3 separate regions of the Homo sapiens genome follow, and all the other regions are linked to region 2. Evidence: promoter capture Hi-C in human tissues and cell types (Jung and others, 2019). All regions are on one chromosome and are shown on one strand. The core of a region is centred on a gene start or on the middle of the fragment in contact, and the rest is flanking DNA. Distances in the headings are between cores, read along the strand shown.

Region 1 (2,884 bases), core at 34-2,533, 380 kb before region 2:
GAACCCTGAAGGCAGGGGTTGTGGTGAGCCGAGATTGCGCTATTGTACTCCAGCCTGGGCAACAAGAGCGAAACTGTCTCCAAAAAAAAAAAAAAAAAGCTACAGCTTCTTATGGAAAACTAAGCTTCTCTCCTGGCCAGGCGTGGTGGCTCACACCTGTAATCCCAGTCACCGAGGCGGGATTTGGGAGGCCGAGGCGGGTGGATCATGAGGTCAGGAGTTCAAGACCAGCCTGGCCAACATGGTGAAACTCCATCTCTACTAAAAACACAAAAAATGGCTGGGCATGGTGGTGCGCGCCTGTAGTCCCAGCTACTCAGGAGGCTGAGGCAGAAGAATCGCTTAAACCCAGGAGGCAGAGGTTGCAGTGAGCCGAGATCGTGCCACTGCACTCCAACCTAGGCAACAAGAGCGAAAGTCTGTCTCGAAAAAAAGAAAAAGAAAAAGAAAAAAAAGCAAGGCTCCTTGCCTGACTCTAGGGGTGGAAACTTGCCAAGGTCTGGCCAATTGGCACCCAAAATCACCTTGTCATGCTTCAGAGGGTGGTGGGGATTGGGGGAAGGGCTAACCAGGTTGTTCCAATCAGAATGAATCCCAGGAGTTGAATGGAAGTTGCTCAGTTTATTAGCAGAGCTCTCTTTTTTGCCACACTTGAACTTGGTAGGTGCCATCAGGTGTGGCCTGTGTGTCCGCCACGTGGTCTCTGAGGCTCCCACCTGGGGGCAGCAGCAACACAACATCCTAACCAGTGGGTGCTTGAGTTCTACTCACTGATGTTCAGATTAGAACTCTTTGGTCACTGCGTCTAGCCTTGTGACCATCACTAGCTGCTTGGGACAGCCATAGAGACACTGTTAGGAAAGTGTGCCCCCAGCACAGTCATGGGAACAATCCTTTATGTTGTTTGTGGCAAGGAAGGAGACCATCACCCATCACCCCAGGAAGATTTAGGAATGGCTCCCTGCCTGTGTCCTAACAGTAATTGTTCTAGCAAGGGTAGTGATGTTTCCTGTGGCACTGTTGCGCTGCTGCTGCTCTCTGTTCTTCTGACCCCTAAGAAATGCACATCCCTGGCAGTCAGTGGCCTAGTCACTGATGATGAAAAAAATAAAATGGACAGGGAATGGCATTTGTTGTTCAACTTCTCTCTCGATGGAAAACCCCAAACTGACAACCCTGGGCTTTGCTTCGCAGTGTTGCTTGCATATTTGGTCAAGGGGTTCAATGGCCCCAGCTGGACCCTAAACAAAATGAACTTACCAGGAGAGGACCCCAGCACTGGGGAGATTGCCTGGCACTCCCGTGGGGAGGAGGATGGCCACCCACGGGGCAGGCTGCTGGTCTCCCTTTCCCCATAACTTCCCTGAAGATCCACACCACGAGTGATCTGATGGAGACGAAAACCACGTGACTTGGAATTTGGAAGAGTGGAGGGGACCCTTAAAATACATGAGAATCCCACTAAATTTCAATGTGGTAAATATTTGACTATTATAGCTAATATGTTCTGCCTGTTTCAAGGACCTCTCAGCCACCATCTGCCAGAGGGCAGGTGGATGGCGTCGCTGAACCTGAGGTACCAAGGGCTGGGGCAAAGTCACGCAGAGGCCACTTTGCTCTGCGCCCTGGTCCTCGCGATCTTTGCCAGATCGGGCTCGTCTGGGCTCGGCTCCGATCGGTCCAGCTGGACTCGGCTCGACTGGCCTCGGCCCCGAACGGTCGGCCAAGAGGGCGGGTGGACGGCGCGCCGGAAGTGACGCGAGAGAGCGAGGTCAATGGCCCGGGTAGCTACAGCAGCCGTCGCAGCCACCGGTCACCTCAGCTGTGAACCATGTAGGAGCCGTCTGGGTGTAGCCCTACCTGCCAGGCGGCGCCCCGCGGGCTGCCGCCGCCGCTGCCTTGAAGAAGCAGTTCAACCTCATCAGCAGGTGGCCGACCTGACTATGGGCCGGTCGGCTCTGGACCGAACCACAGCCCAGCCCGAGGCCAGCGGGACGCCCGCTGCCGCTCAATCGCCCCCTGGTCCTTGGCGACCATCTGGGACGGGCCGCTGCCTCCTCTGTAGCAACCCCTCGGGTGCCCCCTGCCCATTGTCCCTACCCCGGCGAGCATTGCCCTGCGAGGACTACACCCGATGCTTCTCCTCTCTTCCGGAGGACACAGCCAGCCTGGGACCGCTGCCCTGTGCTAAAACTCCGATGACTTCTGTCCCTAACGCTGTGCCGAGCGCTGTGCTGTGGGGGGCAGCATTGTCAGACTTTCCGGGTTGACCCGCTGTTGGGAGTCCTTTAAGTGCATGGTAGCAAGAAATAAAGGGATATATGAAAGCCAGTCGGATTTGCTTAGTGAATTTCAGAACGCCTGCGAGGGAATTCGGAGGTGGTGCAGTCTCAGAAACCAGTATTCCTAGGAACTTGACTGCTGCTGCAAGTTCTTGACATTTAGAAATTTAGAACTGGGAGACACCTTGTGCCAGTTTAAAAAGTCTTCTTCCTCTTGGATTTGGAGACAGCTACTTCTCCATGTTCCTTTGGTACTGCTTGAATGCTTGAAAAGAAACATAGGCAAACAAAAATAATTTATATACGGAAGATGTGTGCTTATGGAGGGATAGCTAATGCACTGAACAAAACCTAGCTGTCATTAGATGGAGGGAGGTAACAAAAGCTACCCAGAGATGAAAAATCTGAGCAGAGACTTTGTCATCCGTCTTTAAACACTGCTTTCAAATACTACTTGTATTGATTAGGTCTCTTGGCCATAAAGAAAACCTAAAACTTCTTCAAGCAAAGATAGGAATTAGTTGTCTCCTAAGTAATCACAAGAGTCCAAGAGTAGTGTGGCTGCAGATTTGGCTACATCCAGGGGTTTCACTCTTTGGGCA
Region 2 (2,879 bases), core at 326-2,825:
TTTTCAACAAGTGAAAAAAAAGAAAAAAAGAAAGCTATTCACGGATTTGGTTAATTGGCTAAGTTTCCCTGAGTGTCCCAATATGATGCAAAAGAAAAAGGGGAATAAGAAAGGAAAAGACGGTAGGAAAGAAAATGAATGTGAAAAGGAGTTAAATACAGTACAATTCCTTGATGCTTAAGCAATTACAGCTCAATGAAGCTAAATATTTCCATTCCATAAAGACATCGTTTAAAAAAAAAAAAAAATTCTCCCTTCACGGTGATGCAAAAGCAGCAGGGCCCAACAGGAACGATAACCTCTTCTGGAGAAAAGATTTTTAATTATTTTACCAGCTGATAAAAAGAGCACACACCGAACATGGACAGAAATGGAGTTTCGAAGGAAAACAAAACGCAGCTTATGCTTGGTAAAGTTCAAGGACAAAACTGTGTCCAATGCAACAGAATCCGCCTGACTACAATGTATGGGGGGGGGGGGGGGGCGGGGGGGAATGCGAACACATAGTATCTTTTTATAAAAGCAACAATTTGAGCTACAAAGTAATAACGGGGAAGCCAAAACAGTTTGACAGCCCGCCATAAGGGCCGCCTCAATCATGAGTCACACAATGCCTGCAACCATTTACAATAGTAATTAATGCACAAGTCCCCTAATTAAATTCTAAAAGGGTGAGAATGCTTTAACTAAGTTTACAAGAATTGCTTTGCGCTTTTTTTTTTTTTTTTTAAAGAAAGAAACACACGCGTAATTACGCATCTCCCCGCAATCCCTCCAGTATTCCCCCAGGCCGCTTCTCCCGAATGTCTGCTCTCCGGGTGCGGAAGAAAATGTCACGGGGGAACTTCTCAACCCAGAAAAGGCGAATCGGAGTAGAAATATACGATTATCGTGGGGCGGGAGACGGAAAGCTCGCCCATCTTACCTGCTAAGATTTCTTTCTACGTCTTTGGTAGCTTTAGCTTCCAATTCTCTGAAACAAAAAAACAAAAACAAAAACAAAACAAAAACACACACACAAAAACGAGATGCGCGTGAAAACGGAGCTGCTGCGGCAGAGGCTCGCGCCGGGGCCGGATGGGGGAGGGGAGAGGACGGGGGGAGGGGGACTCACAAAGCTGCGGGGCTGCAGCCCGGACTGCGGTCCCGCGGCGCGGGCGAGGCGCAACCCCGGCCTGGCCCCCGCGGCGCGGCGCAGCGAGGCTCCCCCGGGCCGCCCGCTCGGCCTCCGCAGCAACGCAGCCTGCGCCCTCCCGCCGAGGCCCGAAGTCTCGGGGACGCCCGGCGCCGCCGCCTCTGCTGCCGCCGCCGCGGGTTGCGGGCCCTGCGGCAGCGCCCGCGGCTCCTCCCGCCCGGAGGGAGGCCCTTGTTCCGCTCACCTCATGTGTGTAAAGTGCACGAGCAAGTGGGGCGCGGCGAAGGAGGCTCGCGAGCCTCAAGCCCTCCGCAGCGCCGCGGGGAGAGGCCCGAGCCGCTGCACCAGCGCCATTTTCTACACCGACCCGCTGCCGCCGCCGCCGCCGCCGCCGCCGCCGCCGCCGACACCGCCGCCGCCGCAGGCCCCAGACCGGAAGTGAATGCCCCACTCGGCAACCCCTTCCGGGGGCGCCACGGCCACTGGCCCCCAAGATGGAGGCCCTAGCAACTGGACCCGCAGATTGGGCAGGTCCTTGGCAACCGCCCCGGCGTGTCACGCTGCACCCAGCCGGACCTCCCTGGAGGTCACAGCCTCCGAGGCGCCCCGCGGAGTGGCTGGGGGGGCCTGCGGAGTCCCGAGTCCAACCTTTTTCGGTGCGGCCGGCTCCGGTCTGACCGAGGAGGGGAGTCCCTCCCCTCCTCCTCCTTCTTTGCTGCGACACAAGTTTCCTACCCGCCGCCCGGCCCCTCCCCCACTGACACACGCCAAAAAAAAAAAAAAAAAAAATTGCCTAAAACGCAAATTTTACCCCAACTGCAGCCTGATGAGCCCGCGCGGCTTTTGAATTCAGCCACTTCTAATTATTTTTGACCTTGGGCCAGTTATTTAACCTCTCTGCTTCTCTGTTCCTCCTCAGGTAAAGAATGCATACCTGAGGCGGGTTGTGAGGCTTAAAAGCGATTTTTATCCACCGACCTTTGACTCAGCAGTTCCGCCTGCACGGATTTTCTGCTCAGGAAATAATTCTGGGTATCTGCAAATATTTCACCTTCGAGATACTAAGCTGTGGTATTGATGATGGTGAAAAATTGCAAACAGCCAAAATGTCCAGCGCTACTAGATGGCTTCAAAAACAGCTACTGGCATGTATTAGGACACTGTAAAAATGATGTGGAGGAATAATCCCGGCATGGAGGAAATGGTTGCAATAGAATAAATGAAAAAGCAGGTTCCAACGTAGCTCACACAGTAAGAAACATCTTAGTGTAGACACAGTAAGATACATACATGTAGATAGACTAAGATATGTATATATGTAGACACAGATGCATATGTGTACATTAAAAGTATACATACATACCTACATGTAGATACAATAAGACATACATATCTGCAGGTAGATACAACAATACACATACATGTAGATACAGTAAGATACATATTTTCACTTGCGTGTGTTCTTTCCAACCTCTCATCAAGCTTTTTCTTCTAATTTAAAGATAATTCCTCCTCTGTGCTTAAAATCTATAACCTTTACTTTCTCAGAAACCCCACTCTGTGGATCATCCCATTCTCCTTTTTCTAACCTAAGTTCTTCAACTGGCTTTTTTTTTTATTTTTTTATTATATTATCATTTTTTTTAGGCGGAGTCTCGCTCTGTCTCCCAGGCTGGAGTGCAGTGGCGCGATCTCCGTTCACCGCAACCTCCGCCTCCCGAGTTCAAGCAATTCTCCTGCCTTA
Region 3 (3,070 bases), core at 557-3,056, 280 kb before region 2:
CATTAGGAAATTTTCATCTGTAAATTTGAAACTTTAAACTTATTTATCTTGGAAAAGGGACTGAAAGCCCCACTTCAAAAATAGGAGCCCTCTTTTTAAAAAGTAGGAGTTAAAAGAGGTTAGATTGTAATGTTCATTCCTTTCCAGGGCCATAGTGATCTGAAGTAACATTGGGTATTCACTGTTATATTGCGACAGAGAAATGTCCTCGATCTCCTTTCTTCTCAGACCGTTCCCCTGGGTGATCTCAGCCCCATAACTATCACCTCATGGTGACAGTTTTATGCCTCCAGCCCTGGGGTCTCTTTATCCCTAGAATGATGCTATCATCTCTCTCTTGAAAAATCTCTGCTGACATGGCCTGATAAAATTGAACCCATGAACTTCTTCCTCAAATTGGCTTCATTTCCCTCTATCTTCTAGTCTGTGAGTCACGAGACTTTGGCCTGCAGGGTAAATCCAGCCCACCGCTTGCTTTGTGAAAAAGTTTACTGGAACACAGCCACTCACTACAGTGGCAGGGTTGAATAGTTGCAACAGTGACCCATATGGCCTGCAACGCCTATGGTATTTATCCTCTGGCACTTCATAAGAAGCATGTGACCCCTGCCCTAGGGCATTAAATGCCCTCACACCCTCCCTAGTCACCTGTCAGTCCCATTCTTTTTCCTCCATCATCTCAGTCAGGTGAGGAGACTGGAAATTCTGCCTCTTTGATTATCTTTTTCTTTTTTTTTTTTTTTTTGAGACGGAGTCCCTCTCTGTCACTCAGTCTGGAGTGCAGTGGCATGATCTCGGCTCACTGCAACCTCTGTCTCCCGGGTTCAAGCGATTCTCCTGTCTCAGCCTCCTGAGTAGCTGGGACTACAGGCGCACACCACCATGTCCGGCTAATTTTTTTTTTTTTTTAATTTTTAGTAGAGACAGAGTTTCACCATGTTGGCCAGGCTGGTCTGGAACTGACCTTGATTATCTGTTGACTTCATCTTTGCTTCCCAGAGGCCATCCTTCCTGTTACCTTAATTAGGTGCTCATTATTTTTCACTTGGAGTCAAATTTGTCTTCCAGTTGGCTTTGCTGCCTTGAGCTGGCTTGAGCTGGATTGTATCTACAATTCCCCAACCTTCTGTTTGACATGGTCGGTCACCATTTTAATGATTATAGCTGCTCACCTCTAAATTACTTTTTCATGATGAATTCTCTAGAGGTTAGAATCACTAGATTTATAGGAAATTAATGTTTATATCATGACAGTATTGCCAGGTTGTCTCCTAAGATGATAATGCCGTCATTTAGTTTGTAGTGCAGAAAGTGATGTTGCGCAATAATGTGTGTCATTATGCATGACATGATGAATATCACATTTCACCATCACCTTAGTTGCATTAGATATTGTCCTTAAAAAATTTGTTATCTATTTAAATTTTTTCCACTAAGTTCAAAATGAATGTGTTCTTACATTTGTATTTCTTTATATGAGTTTTCTCTGTATGTGTCATTTGTTTGTCATGGAATTAACGTTTAGTTATCAGTTTCATTGCTCAGTTACCAATTTAGTTCAACAAATGTCTCTTGAGAACCTGTCAAATGATAGGGGCTGGGGTTAAAAATATAATTGATCCCTGGGGACTTGAATGTGGAGACAGAGCTACAAACAGATAATCTGAATGTAACCAGTTTTATCTATTCTAGCAGATCTTAGGTGCTGTTAATGAAATCTTAATGCCATTCTTTGATGTATTTATGTACTTTAATATAAACAAGTTAGCATTCTTGTTCATAGATATGTTCCTCAACAGATACAGTGATGAAACCTTGCACATTCATGACTAGGTACAGATTTAATACAAGTTTCAGAAGATAAAGCTGATTCTATAAAAAATCTAAGATTTCTATAAGAAACTGTCTTTTAAATAGGTAGAGCCTATTATTTATAGCAAATAAAATAATAGGCATGTTTGATATAAAAACAATATTCAGGCTGGGTATGGTGGCTCACGCCTGTAATCCCAGCACTTTGGGAGGCCAAGGCGGGTGGATCTCCTGAGGTCACGAGTTTGAGACCAGCCTGACCAATATGGTAAAACCCCATCTCTACTAAAAATACGAAAATTAGCTGGGCATGGCAGGCAGGCGCCTGTAATCCCAGGTACTCAGGAGGCTGAGGCAGGAGAATGGCTTGGACCCAGGAGGCCGAGGTTGCAGTGAGCCAAGATCGCACCACTGCACTCCAGCCTGGGCAACAGAGTGAGACTCCATCTCAAAAACAAACAATATTCAGTTCATTTCAGCCATGCATCTTGTGAGACTGTGTTTCCTCTGTGTTAATTACAGCTTATTGATTATTTGCATTGGCTACTTCCTTTTGATTATCCCAAGATGTTTCTCTCTTCCTCTCCTTTCCCACAGCTCTTCTTTTTGGACGTCTTCCTTATCAGAGATACCTTTTGGTTTAGTAGTCAATTTGATCTCTCCTTTAATGTTTCATTAGCATTTCTTCTGTAGTTACTCAGTGTTCTTCCACATGGTTTGGCCAAATTTATACTTCTTAAAGAGTTTAAATTAGAAATCACAGACCAAGTAAACAGGTGCTCAAATGAATATAAATCTTAAATAAATGTACAGAAATTATTAAAAGCACCCATCAGCTGTTACCTGTCAGTGTGAATATGTATAAATCAAGCAGCTTGGATATCACGTGGTCATTGGATACTTTCACATGCCTGGGCTGGAGTGACCATTTGAAACCATGGCCAGCGGTACTTTGGGGAAATACACCGAAGTGTTTCTACTTCACCAGATACAGTGAGTGCTTGGATGGAGGGAGTGTGGGCACAGGCACAAAGCAGGGGAGTCTCTGAGATGTGCCTGGGGGTTCAGTGAGGACTCCGCTGGGCATGTAACGTGAGCAATCATTTTTAAACAAATTTTTTCATGGAGGCAGAGTCTTGCTATGTTGCCCAGGCTGGTCTCCAACTCCTGGCCTCAAACAACTCTCCCATCTTGGCCTCCCAAAGTTGTGGGATTACAGACGTGAGCCACTGTGCCTGGCCTTGAGTGATCTTAATAA

The links. Contacts are between HindIII fragments. The study calls those that stand out against the background at their distance.
Region 1: a fragment that was not itself captured here is called in contact with the fragment with the promoter of TNRC6A in region 2 in 1 of the 25 tissues and cell types used here (dorsolateral prefrontal cortex).
Region 3: a contact is called between a fragment that was not itself captured here and the fragment with the promoter of TNRC6A in region 2, in 1 of the 25 tissues and cell types used here (lymphoblastoid cells).

Annotation. Positions count from the first base shown.
Region 1 is chr16:25,106,016-25,108,899 of GRCh38, reverse strand. The region is part of intron 1 of LCMT1-AS1 (LCMT1 antisense RNA 1); the gene reads left to right. Among named protein-coding and RNA genes, the nearest start is that of LCMT1-AS1, 4.1 kb to the left of the region's middle. RefSeq lists enhancers at 1,675-1,874, 1,379-1,878, 1,879-2,380. The HindIII fragment of the contact is 3,214 bases long and covers 1-2,884 here.
Region 2 is chr16:24,728,347-24,731,225 of GRCh38, reverse strand. It overlaps TNRC6A (trinucleotide repeat containing adaptor 6A), which reads right to left and starts at 1,575. Exons shown (of 25, transcript NM_014494.4): 1 at 1,380-1,575; 2 at 926-973. The coding sequence starts at 1,384. RefSeq lists a silencer at 1,237-1,546. The HindIII fragment of the contact is 13,221 bases long and covers 1-2,879 here.
Region 3 is chr16:25,004,125-25,007,194 of GRCh38, reverse strand. The region is part of intron 1 of ARHGAP17 (Rho GTPase activating protein 17); the gene reads left to right. Among named protein-coding and RNA genes, the nearest start is that of ARHGAP17, 9.7 kb to the left of the region's middle. The HindIII fragment of the contact is 4,980 bases long and covers 1-3,070 here.